2 separate regions of the Homo sapiens genome follow, and region 2 is linked to region 1. Evidence: promoter capture Hi-C in 16 types of primary human blood cells and fetal thymus (Javierre and others, 2016). All regions are on one chromosome and are shown on one strand. The core of a region is centred on a gene start or on the middle of the fragment in contact, and the rest is flanking DNA. Distances in the headings are between cores, read along the strand shown.

The links. Contacts are between HindIII fragments. The CHiCAGO score rates a contact against its expected background, and 5 or more counts as called.
Region 2: a fragment that was not itself captured here is called in contact with the fragment with the promoter of MRPL28 in region 1 in 1 of 17 cell types (erythroblasts); the score reaches 5.7 in erythroblasts.

The regions. Positions count from the first base shown.
Region 1 is chr16:368,963-371,787 of GRCh38, forward strand. MRPL28 (mitochondrial ribosomal protein L28) reads right to left here and starts at 1,576. Exons shown (of 6, transcript NM_006428.5): 1 at 1,537-1,576; 2 at 969-1,263; 3 at 106-258. The coding sequence starts at 1,256. It overlaps PGAP6 (post-GPI attachment to proteins 6), which reads right to left. Exons shown (of 13, transcript NM_021259.3): 13 at 1,826-2,825. The HindIII fragment of the contact is 7,915 bases long and covers 1-1,961 here.
Region 2 is chr16:244,815-251,115 of GRCh38, forward strand. FAM234A (family with sequence similarity 234 member A) reads left to right here. Exons shown (of 13, transcript NM_032039.4): 2 at 4,735-4,840. Among named protein-coding and RNA genes, the nearest start is that of FAM234A, 13 kb to the left of the region's middle. The HindIII fragment of the contact is 1,601 bases long and covers 949-2,549 here.

The sequences.
Region 1 (2,825 bases), core at 326-2,825:
GTGCAGATGTCAGCGTGCCCCGGTGTGATGCTGACCTGGGGCTCCCGTGAGTCTGACTGGCCCATCCCAGACCCTGTGTGCACTGACTCGCCCCACCCCGCTTGCCTTGAGGATGTAAAAGTCGAGCCCATAAGCCTCATCGATGAGGTCCAGGGTCCGCATGGTCACAGTCACTGTGAACTTCTTGTCCAGGATCTCACTGTAGAACTCTCGCTCAAACAGCTGTGGCTTCCACACTTTCTTCAGCCTCTTGGAGAGCTGAGGGTGCAACAGAGCCTCCATGAGTACTGCTGCTTTCTCTTACATACCAAGGGGGGCCCAGGCAACTGCCCTCACCTCCCCCCCGGAGGCTCCATCACAGAACCACTGCTGTCAGACTGGGGACCTAGAGCTAACTGGGCCGGCCCCCAGCCCAGTGCCGCCCCAGCCCGACCCGGGTCCTGACTGTGTACCCAGAAGTCAGCTGCTCCCCAACAAGCTGGGCGTTCCCGCCCTGGTCACATGGTTGCTGCATGTGTTTCAGAAACATGTGCGACCCCACAGTTTACAGGTTGTCACATTCCAACCTGGAGGTGACACAAGTCTCCCCACAGGCTTCAGCAGTCCCGCCAGGAAGTCCACCACAAGCAGCCTCGAAGCTCTGCTCGCCTCCCCCACCTGCTCTGCTCGCCTCTCCCACCTGCTCTGCTCATCACACAGGCCTCCTCCCCATCCTAACTTTACCCCGACTCCCCACGGCCTCTGGTTGCTCCCCCGGCCTGAGTCACCCCACCTCACCCCTACTTTATCAGTCCTGTTTGCCAGAACTGCGGTTCTTCACTCAGCGTGCTCCTTTGCCGGAGATGTGTCGCCTCCAGGCTGTAATCCCCAGGGCCCACCCAGGTCTCTCCAGGTACCCCGGGCGTCCGGCACAGAGCCGGCACAGCCAAGCCCTGAGAGGAGCCCCTGAAGGCCGCCTGCGGACCCACCTTGTCGTTGTTGGCATATATTTGGCCCAGGATCCAGCCCTCGCCGCCCCACAACCCCCGCTGGGATTCGGGGGGAAAGTAGATGGGAATGGGCACGTCCTCCACACGCTCCCGCTGCCCGTTCTTGGGGTTGATCTTGAACTTGGCCCCATGAGGCCTATAGTGCACGGGAGTGGGCGTCCGCTCCTCCTCCAGGGAGCGCAGGTAGTGGCCGGGCAGGCGGGAACAGATGCCCTCCCGCAGCTGCAGCCGCTTCCAGAGCCACACGGGATACTTGTGTAGAGGCATCGCGAGCCTGGCGGGAGGTGGGGGCTCGCAGTCAGTCGCAGCCTGGCCAGGCCCCCGGCACTCACCCCCTACCCCGGCCCCCGACTCTCACCCGCTACCCCGGCCCCCGGCTCTCACCCGCTACCCCGGCCCCCGGCTCTCACCCGCTACCCCGGCCCCCGGCTCTCACCCGCTACCCCCTACCCCGGCCCCCGGTTCTCACTCCGGCCCCTGTCCCGCACCCACCTGCCCCTCCCCTTCTGCCCCGGCGCCCCCCCACACCCCACCTGCCCGCGCCCACCTTTCAGGGTTCAGAGCCCACCGGAACCGGAAGCCGATCTGCCGCGCCTGGCCCTCCTCCCACCGCTGACTGGCTGTAAAAGCCATCCGTCTACCCCCTCGTCCCGCCCCGCTTCCGTCTTTAGGGACCGTAAAAAACACCCCACATACAGCAGCAGCAGCTCAAGGCACCGTTAGCTACGTGCGGCCCCGGCGTTTCCGCGAAGGGCGGCACGGGCGGGGCGGTGCTTGTTCTCCCGGGCCCCACTTACCCTACCCGGGAAGGAGCACAGAAAAAATGTAAAAACTCGTTTAGTTTGAAAAATCAATGTAGAATATTAAATTCACCAAACACAGATAGATCAGATCTACATAAAAATATGTCTTAATATCTTAGAATTTTCCTTTACTCCAAAAAACCCCATATATATATGTTTCTCCTTTATAAGCTTAGAGATTGCTTTGGTGGTCAAGTGCAGGGCGGCTGGGGGAGGTAAGACCTTCAGGAAGGCCATATCCCGGACAAGACCCAGAAGGGAAGCCCCCAGAGCCAAGGGTAGGAGGGCCCCACCCGGGTCTCAGCCACTCACTTCTCCAGGGCGGATCCGAGACACTCACAGGCCTCAGGGAGGGGCCAGGTGCTGCTCCTGGTCATTGCTTCCCCCACAAGGTTTGCATGAGGAGCAGAGACAGTCCAGTCTCCTGAACACCCACAGGGCACAGAGCCCAGTGCAGGGGGCAGACACCACCGCAGCTCCTGGGACCAAGAGGAAGCTCCCAGAGGGGGGCCCAGGAACGCTGGGGTGGGTGGACAGGGCTGGGTAGGGGTTCCTTCTGGGCCAAACCCCCAGAGCAGCAGAGCACCCCAGTCCAAGGAAGCTCTTCTCAGGGACCCAAGGCTCCAGAGCCAGGAAAAAGGGAGGGGCGGGGCGGGAGCCTGCATCCCCAGTGCCCATCAGCTCTGGGGGAAACCTCCGTCTCCCGTCCCTATGGTGACCACAGCAGCAGAGGGGGATCCTCCATGCCCCAGGCAGGCTGGCATCAGGGCCACACAGGGGCCAGGAGCAGGGGTCTCGGAGTCCACAGCTCCCGGCCCCAGTGGTGGGCTCAGGGCTCCTGGGCGCCATGGGTCTCACCACAGCCTCGCCAGGGAACAGGACCATAGGGAGTCCTTCTCCCCATCTCTAGCCACCCACAGGCCAGCAGAGCACACAGCCCCACCCTCGCACAGGCACCTGTGGTCTCCAAGTAACCAAGCCCAGGCCCCAGGGGCCACTGCAGACAGCAGCTGGGATCTGCAGAGGGATCTCA
Region 2 (6,301 bases), core at 499-2,998, 120 kb before region 1:
GTAGCTGGGATTACAGGCATGCACCACCACGCCCGGCTAATTTTTTTTTGTATTTTTAGTAGAGATGGGGTTTCTCCATGTTGGTCAGGCTGGTCTCAAACTCCCGACCTCAGGTGATCTGCCCGCCTCAGCCTCCCAACGTGCTGGGATTACAGGCATGAGCCATCGCGCTCGACCAATAACTACCATTTCAAATTCCCACGACTATTGTACTGCAGACCTGTTATCGTATATTCTCACCAACACATTTTAAAATGCTTAACTTTTAGGCTGGGCGTGGCCCACACTTTGGGAGGCTGAGGCAGGCAGATCACTTGGGCCCTGGAGTTTGAGACCAGCCTGGGCAACGTGGCGAAACTCTGTCTCTACAAAAAATACAAAAATTTGCCCGGCGCGGTGATGCACACCTGTGGTCCCAGCTACTTTATAGGCTGAGGTGGGAGAATCTCTCGAACCCAGCAGGAGGAGGTTGCAGTGAGCCTAGATCACCACTGCCCTCCAGCCTGGGCCACAGAGTGAGACCCTGTCTCAAGATCAGATAAAATGAAATGCTTAACTTTTGTTAATGTCATTGGTCCTGCTGTGTCTATGAGTGAGACTGAGTGTGTTTCCCCTGGGCACCGGCCACTGGCGTGTGCTCTTCAGTGAACTGCCCAGTTATGAATTCGTTTCCTGTTTCCCCACTGGGGTCCTTGCCTTTCTTTTGTGGGTTTGTGAAAACCCTAAGAATATTTATCCTGGTTTGTTTTGTGGAGCTAACAACAATCTTTTGGCTTCCCTGGGCCACGTTGGAAGAATTGTCTTGGGCCACACATAAAGTACACTAACACTAATGATAGCTGATGAGCTGAAAAAAAAAAATTGCAAAAAAATCTGTGAATGTTTTAAGAAAGTTTCTGAATTTATGTTAGGCCACACTTCAAGCCATCCTGGGCCGAGGGTTGGACAAGCTTGGGTTAGACATTTCATAATATATTTAGTTCATCAGTGTTTTTCTTAATGATTTCCACCTTTGGGGTCATGCGTTCAAGACTTTCCCTAACAATACATAAACATTCTCTTCTATTTTCTTTTAGTTTAATGTTTGTTAAAAATAATGTTTACATTTTTGGCCAGGCGCAGTGGCTCACGCCTGTAATCCCAGCACTTTGAGAGGCTTAGGTGGGCAGATCACGAGGTCAGCAGTTCTAGACCAGCCTGATCATCATGGTGAAACCGTCTCTACTAAAAATACAAAAATTAGCTGGGTGCGGTGGTGGGTGTGGTGGTGGGTGCCTATAGTCCCAGCCACTCAGGAGGCTGAGGCAGGAGAATCGCTTGAACCCAGGAGGCAGAGGTTGCAGTGAGCCAAGATCACGCCATTGTACTCCCGCCTAGGTGACAGAGCAAGATTCTGTCTCAAAAAAATAATAATAATAATAATAATGTTTACATTTTTAATTCATTTGGAGTTTATCTTGATTGGTGGATTTTTTTTTTTTTTTGTGACGAGGTCTCACTCTCACCCAGGCTGGAGCACAGTGGTGCAGTCTCGGCTCACCGCAACCTCTGCCTCCTGGGTTCAAGCAGTTCTCCTGCCTCAGCCTCCTGAGTAGGTGGTGGCTTTTTTTTTTTTTTTTTTTTTTGAGATAGTCTTGCTCTGTCGCCCAGGCTGGAGTGCAGTGGTGCGATCTTGGCTCACTGCAAGCTCTGCCTCCCGGGTTCACGCCATTCTCCTGCCTCAGCCTCCCGAGTAGCTGGGACTAAAGGTGCCCGCCACCACACCCGGCTAATTTTTTGTATTTTTAGTAGAGATGGGGTTTCACCGTGTTAGCCAGGATGGTCTCAATCTCCTGACCTTGTGATCCGCCCGCTTTGGCCTCCTAAAGTGCTGGTATTACAGGCGTGAGCCACCATGCCCAGCCAGCTGGTGTTTTTTTTTTTTCGATCGATTGGTGTTTTGTTTTGTTTTGTTTTGTTTTTGTTTTTTTCTTTTTTTGAGATGGGGGTCTTGCTCTGTTGCCCAGGCTGGAGTGCAGTGGCACGATCTTGGCTCACTGCAACCTCTGCCTCCCAGGCTCAAGTGATTCTCCTGCCTCAGCCTCCTGAGTAGTTGGGATTATAGGCGCATGCCACCATACTCATCTAATTTTTTTATTTTAGCAGAGGTGGGGTTTCACCATGTTGTTCAGGCTGGTCTCGAACTCCTGACTTCGTGATCTGCCTGCCTCGGCCTCCGAAAGTGCTGGGATTACAGGCGCAAACCACCACGCCCGGTCAGTTGGTGGTTTTTTAATTGATTGATTGTTGGTTTTGTTGTTTTATCGATGTTTTGTTCTGTTTTGTTTTGTTTTGAGACAGAGCTTTACTCTGTGTCACCAGGCTGGAGGGCAGTGGCGTGATCACCACTCATTGCAGCCTCCACTTCCTGGCTTCAAGTGACCCTCCCACCTCAGCTCCTGGGTAGCTAAGACCACAGGCGTGTGCCACCACACCGGGCTGATTTTTTTTTTCTTTCTTTTTAGAAACGGTCTCACCGTGTTGCCCAGGCTGGTCTTGAACTGAACTCAAGCTTTCCATGCGCCTCGGCCTGGCAAAGTGCTGGGATTATAGACATGAGACAACACTCCCAGCCTTATTAATGATTTTTTTTTTTTAAGAGAAGTCTTGCTGTTGTCCCTCAGGCTTGAGTGCGATGGCTCAATCTCGGCTGACTGCAACCTCTGCCTCCCAGGTTCAAACAATTCTCCTGCCCTTGACTCCCAAGTGACTGGGATTAAGGTGCCCGCCACCACGCCCGACTAATTTTTGTATTTTTTAGTAGAGATGGGGTTTCACCATGTTGGCCAGGCTGGTCTCGAACTCCTGACCTCAGGTACTCCGCCTGCCTTGGCCTCCCAAAGGGCTGGGATTATAGGCGTGAGCCACCGCGCCTGGCCTTATTAATGATTTTTAAATCAGTTTCTCACAAACTCTTTTGATCTTAGATCAGTCTGTGTTTTTCATAAATGCCTCAACGGCTGGCTCGGTTTTAGAAACCTGTGTTTGTCAGTTAAAATGATGATCCTCCCAAAAATGTTCAGTGCCATTTTCTACCCTGACCTGGGTTCGCCCAAGTGGTGGGAGAGTCCCCATGGAGGCACTGCGGGGCCTGACTGTCTGGGAACCCTCTCAGAGTGGAGCCCAGTGCTGGGTTCAGGTGGGTGCTCATCTGGTTAAGTCAATTGCCTGCATTGTTTTGCGTCCCGTAATGGGGCTTTGCCTTCTGAAGCCTCTGTTTCTGTCTTCCCTCACACGTATGTGATATGTCTTATTTCATTCTGCTCTGCAGGTGAGGACACTGGACCAATTGTAGATGCTCACAAGACACAGATGACCCAAATCCCCAACCGTGTTACTAATGAGCATTTAGAGAGTTTTTTCCCTTTGTCCTTCTAAATCTTGTTACAGAGATGGTCCGTGCATGGGGGAAATGTTTGTCCTTTCGGCCAGGCTCTCCAATTCAAAAGGCAGGAATTGAGAAAATGACAGTACTTTCTCTGTCCCTGCCACAGAATGTCCAGTTTGGTCTGATTTAACATGACAAATCATGCTGTAGAGATAAGTAAGTAGTTTGAATTTTATTTTTCCTTTAATTTTTAGAAGCCACCTTATAACTCGACCATTCTAGTCACATTTTTTTCATATAGATTGTATACTTTATATACTCCATGCTTATCCACATAGAGAATACTTCTGGAAGGACCCATATGAAACTGGTACCATGCTTCCCCTCTTGAGCCTGGGAGCCACAAGATGAAAGGAGATTTACCCTTTTATAGTTTTTAAGTTTTGTGGGTTTTTTTGAAACAGGGTCTTGTTCTGTTGCCCAGGATGGAGTGCAGTGTCCTGGCCATCGCTCACTGCAGCCTTGACCTCCCGGGCTCAAGCAATCCTCCTGCCTCAGCCTCCTGAGTAGTTGGGACTATAGGTGCCCACCACCACACCTGGCTGATTTTTGTATTTTTGGGTAGAGAAGAAGTGTCCCCTGTTGCCCAGGCTGGTCTCAAACTCCTAGGCTCAAGCGACCCACCTGCCTCAGTCCCCCAAAGTGCTGGGATTACAGGTGTGAGGCAGTGCACCTGGCCCTTTTAAATGTTGTATATATTTATTACTGATTTTTTAAAATTATAAATCCAAACTACATTAATAGTAATTGTCTTGCAGGGTCCTTTGGTCATAGCTTACATATTAGAAGAAGGATTAAGAAAGGGAGTGATATAATTTACTAGCTTGAGGTCTGCATTTGGATTGACTTTACTAAGCTTGCTGTGAACTCCAAGGAACAGAAAACCCAGAATACAGGCCGGGCGGCATCTTCAGAGGAAGAGGCCCTTTCCCCTTTGCCTTGCTTGCTTCCAGGCTGGCTGTGGGGGGATGCAGTCTCCCCTTGAGGGTCAGGAGATGTCTGGCCATCATCTGGTAGTTAGAGTGGGATGAACCGAACAAGGGCAGACTTCTCGGTCTGTTCTTCTCTGCTTGGCTCCACCCTGGAATCAGCTGGAGAGTGCCAGCAGCTGCTCCTGACTGGGACCCCACACCCAAAGTGGCCAACTTAGTCCTTCTGGGGGTGGCATCAGGATTGCGAAAGCACCCAAGTTATTTTCATGTGGAGCCACCACTGAGAGTCATGTCTTTGGGAGGATCTAAGTTCCTGACCTGCCACCTTCGCAGGCTGCCTGAGCTGCACTTGACAAGTGGCTTTATGATCCCTAGGTCCACCTGGGCTTGCGAAGGCACAGATTCCCCGTCCACAGCTCACGACCAGATGCACCAGCAGGAGTCCACATCGAGGACGTCCTCCGGGCACTCCCACGACCAGGTAGGTGAGGACTGGTGGGCCCGTGGCTGGATGGGTGGTGTTTTCAGATTCCTGGTGGTGGCGGTTGATGCCCCTCCTTGAGTAGTGCTTTCCTGCACGCTTTCTTTGATGCTCTAGCTCCCACCAGATGAGGACAGCTGAGGCTCAGAGCTCGAATTTCTTGGCTGCAATTTTAAAGCTCTTAAGTTTAAAGCCGTAAAGATAGAAATCCAGAATTATAACATTCTGGTTCTTACTCCGTTTTTTTCTTTCCTTTGCCAAAGGAATCTATGTTTTATTTATTTATTATTTAAAAAAAATTTTTCTTTTTAGACGGAGTCTCGCTCTGTCGCCCAGGCTGGAGTGCAGTGGCGCGATCTCGGCTCACTGCAAGCTCCACCTCCCGGGTTCACGCCGTTCTCCTGCCGCAGCCTCCTATAGGCGCATGCCGCCACACCCAGCTAATTTTTTGTATTCTTAGTAGAGACGGGGTTTCACCGTGTTAGCCAGGATGCTCTAGATCTCCTGACCTCGTGATCCTCCCACCTCGGCCTCTCAAAGTGCTGGGACTACAGGCGTGAGCCACCGCGCCCGGCCAGGAATCTATGTTTTAAACATTTCACACATCCCTTCCTTGGGGACATGGTGGCTAGATTTGCTGAATTAATGGCCGTCTCCTCTTCTTCCAGCCCTGGCCCCAGCCCCTCAGGCCCTGGCAATGAGGCACTCCTACGTTCTGTTGCTGGCTTTTTCCCTAGTTACCTTTTCCAGACAACCCACGTCCTGCCTTCCCCACCCCCATGCCAGCTGCTTGGGTTTAATGAGGTCCTTGGTCGCGACTCATTGTTTGATTTTCCGTGTTCTAACTCACTGCCTTTGATAAGCACACCTTTTCTGACTTCCAAGATGTTAAAACTTAAGCCTCAGCACCTAGGAGAATGCACACATTTTTTCTTATTGTGGTAAAATGTACATAACGTAAAATTTGCCATTAGTAACATTTGGTATGATCACAGCATTTTGTAACCATCACCACTATTTTCATCATCCCACAAAGAAACCCTCAGCCCATAGCAGTCATTCCCGACTCTCCCTGTTCCGCACCTGGCCCCCACGAGTCTACTCCCTGCCTCTGTGGATTTGCCTGTTCTGGGCGTTTCACACTACAGGGGACCTTCGTGTCCTAGTCATTGCATTTAGCATAATTTTATAATGTGTCAGAATTTTAGTTTTTACCATGGCTGAAAAACACACCACTGCATTATGGTGTAATTATGCACTGTATTATGGATAGGCCACATTTTGTTTATCCATTCATATGTTTTGTTTTGTTTTGTTTTTGAGAAGGAGTCTCCCTCTATTGCCCAGGCTGGAGTGCAATGGTGCAATCTTGGCTCACTGCAACTTCCACCTCCCGGGTTCAAGCGATTCTCCTGCCTCAGCCTCCCGAGTAGCTGGGATTACAAGCGCCTGCCACCATGC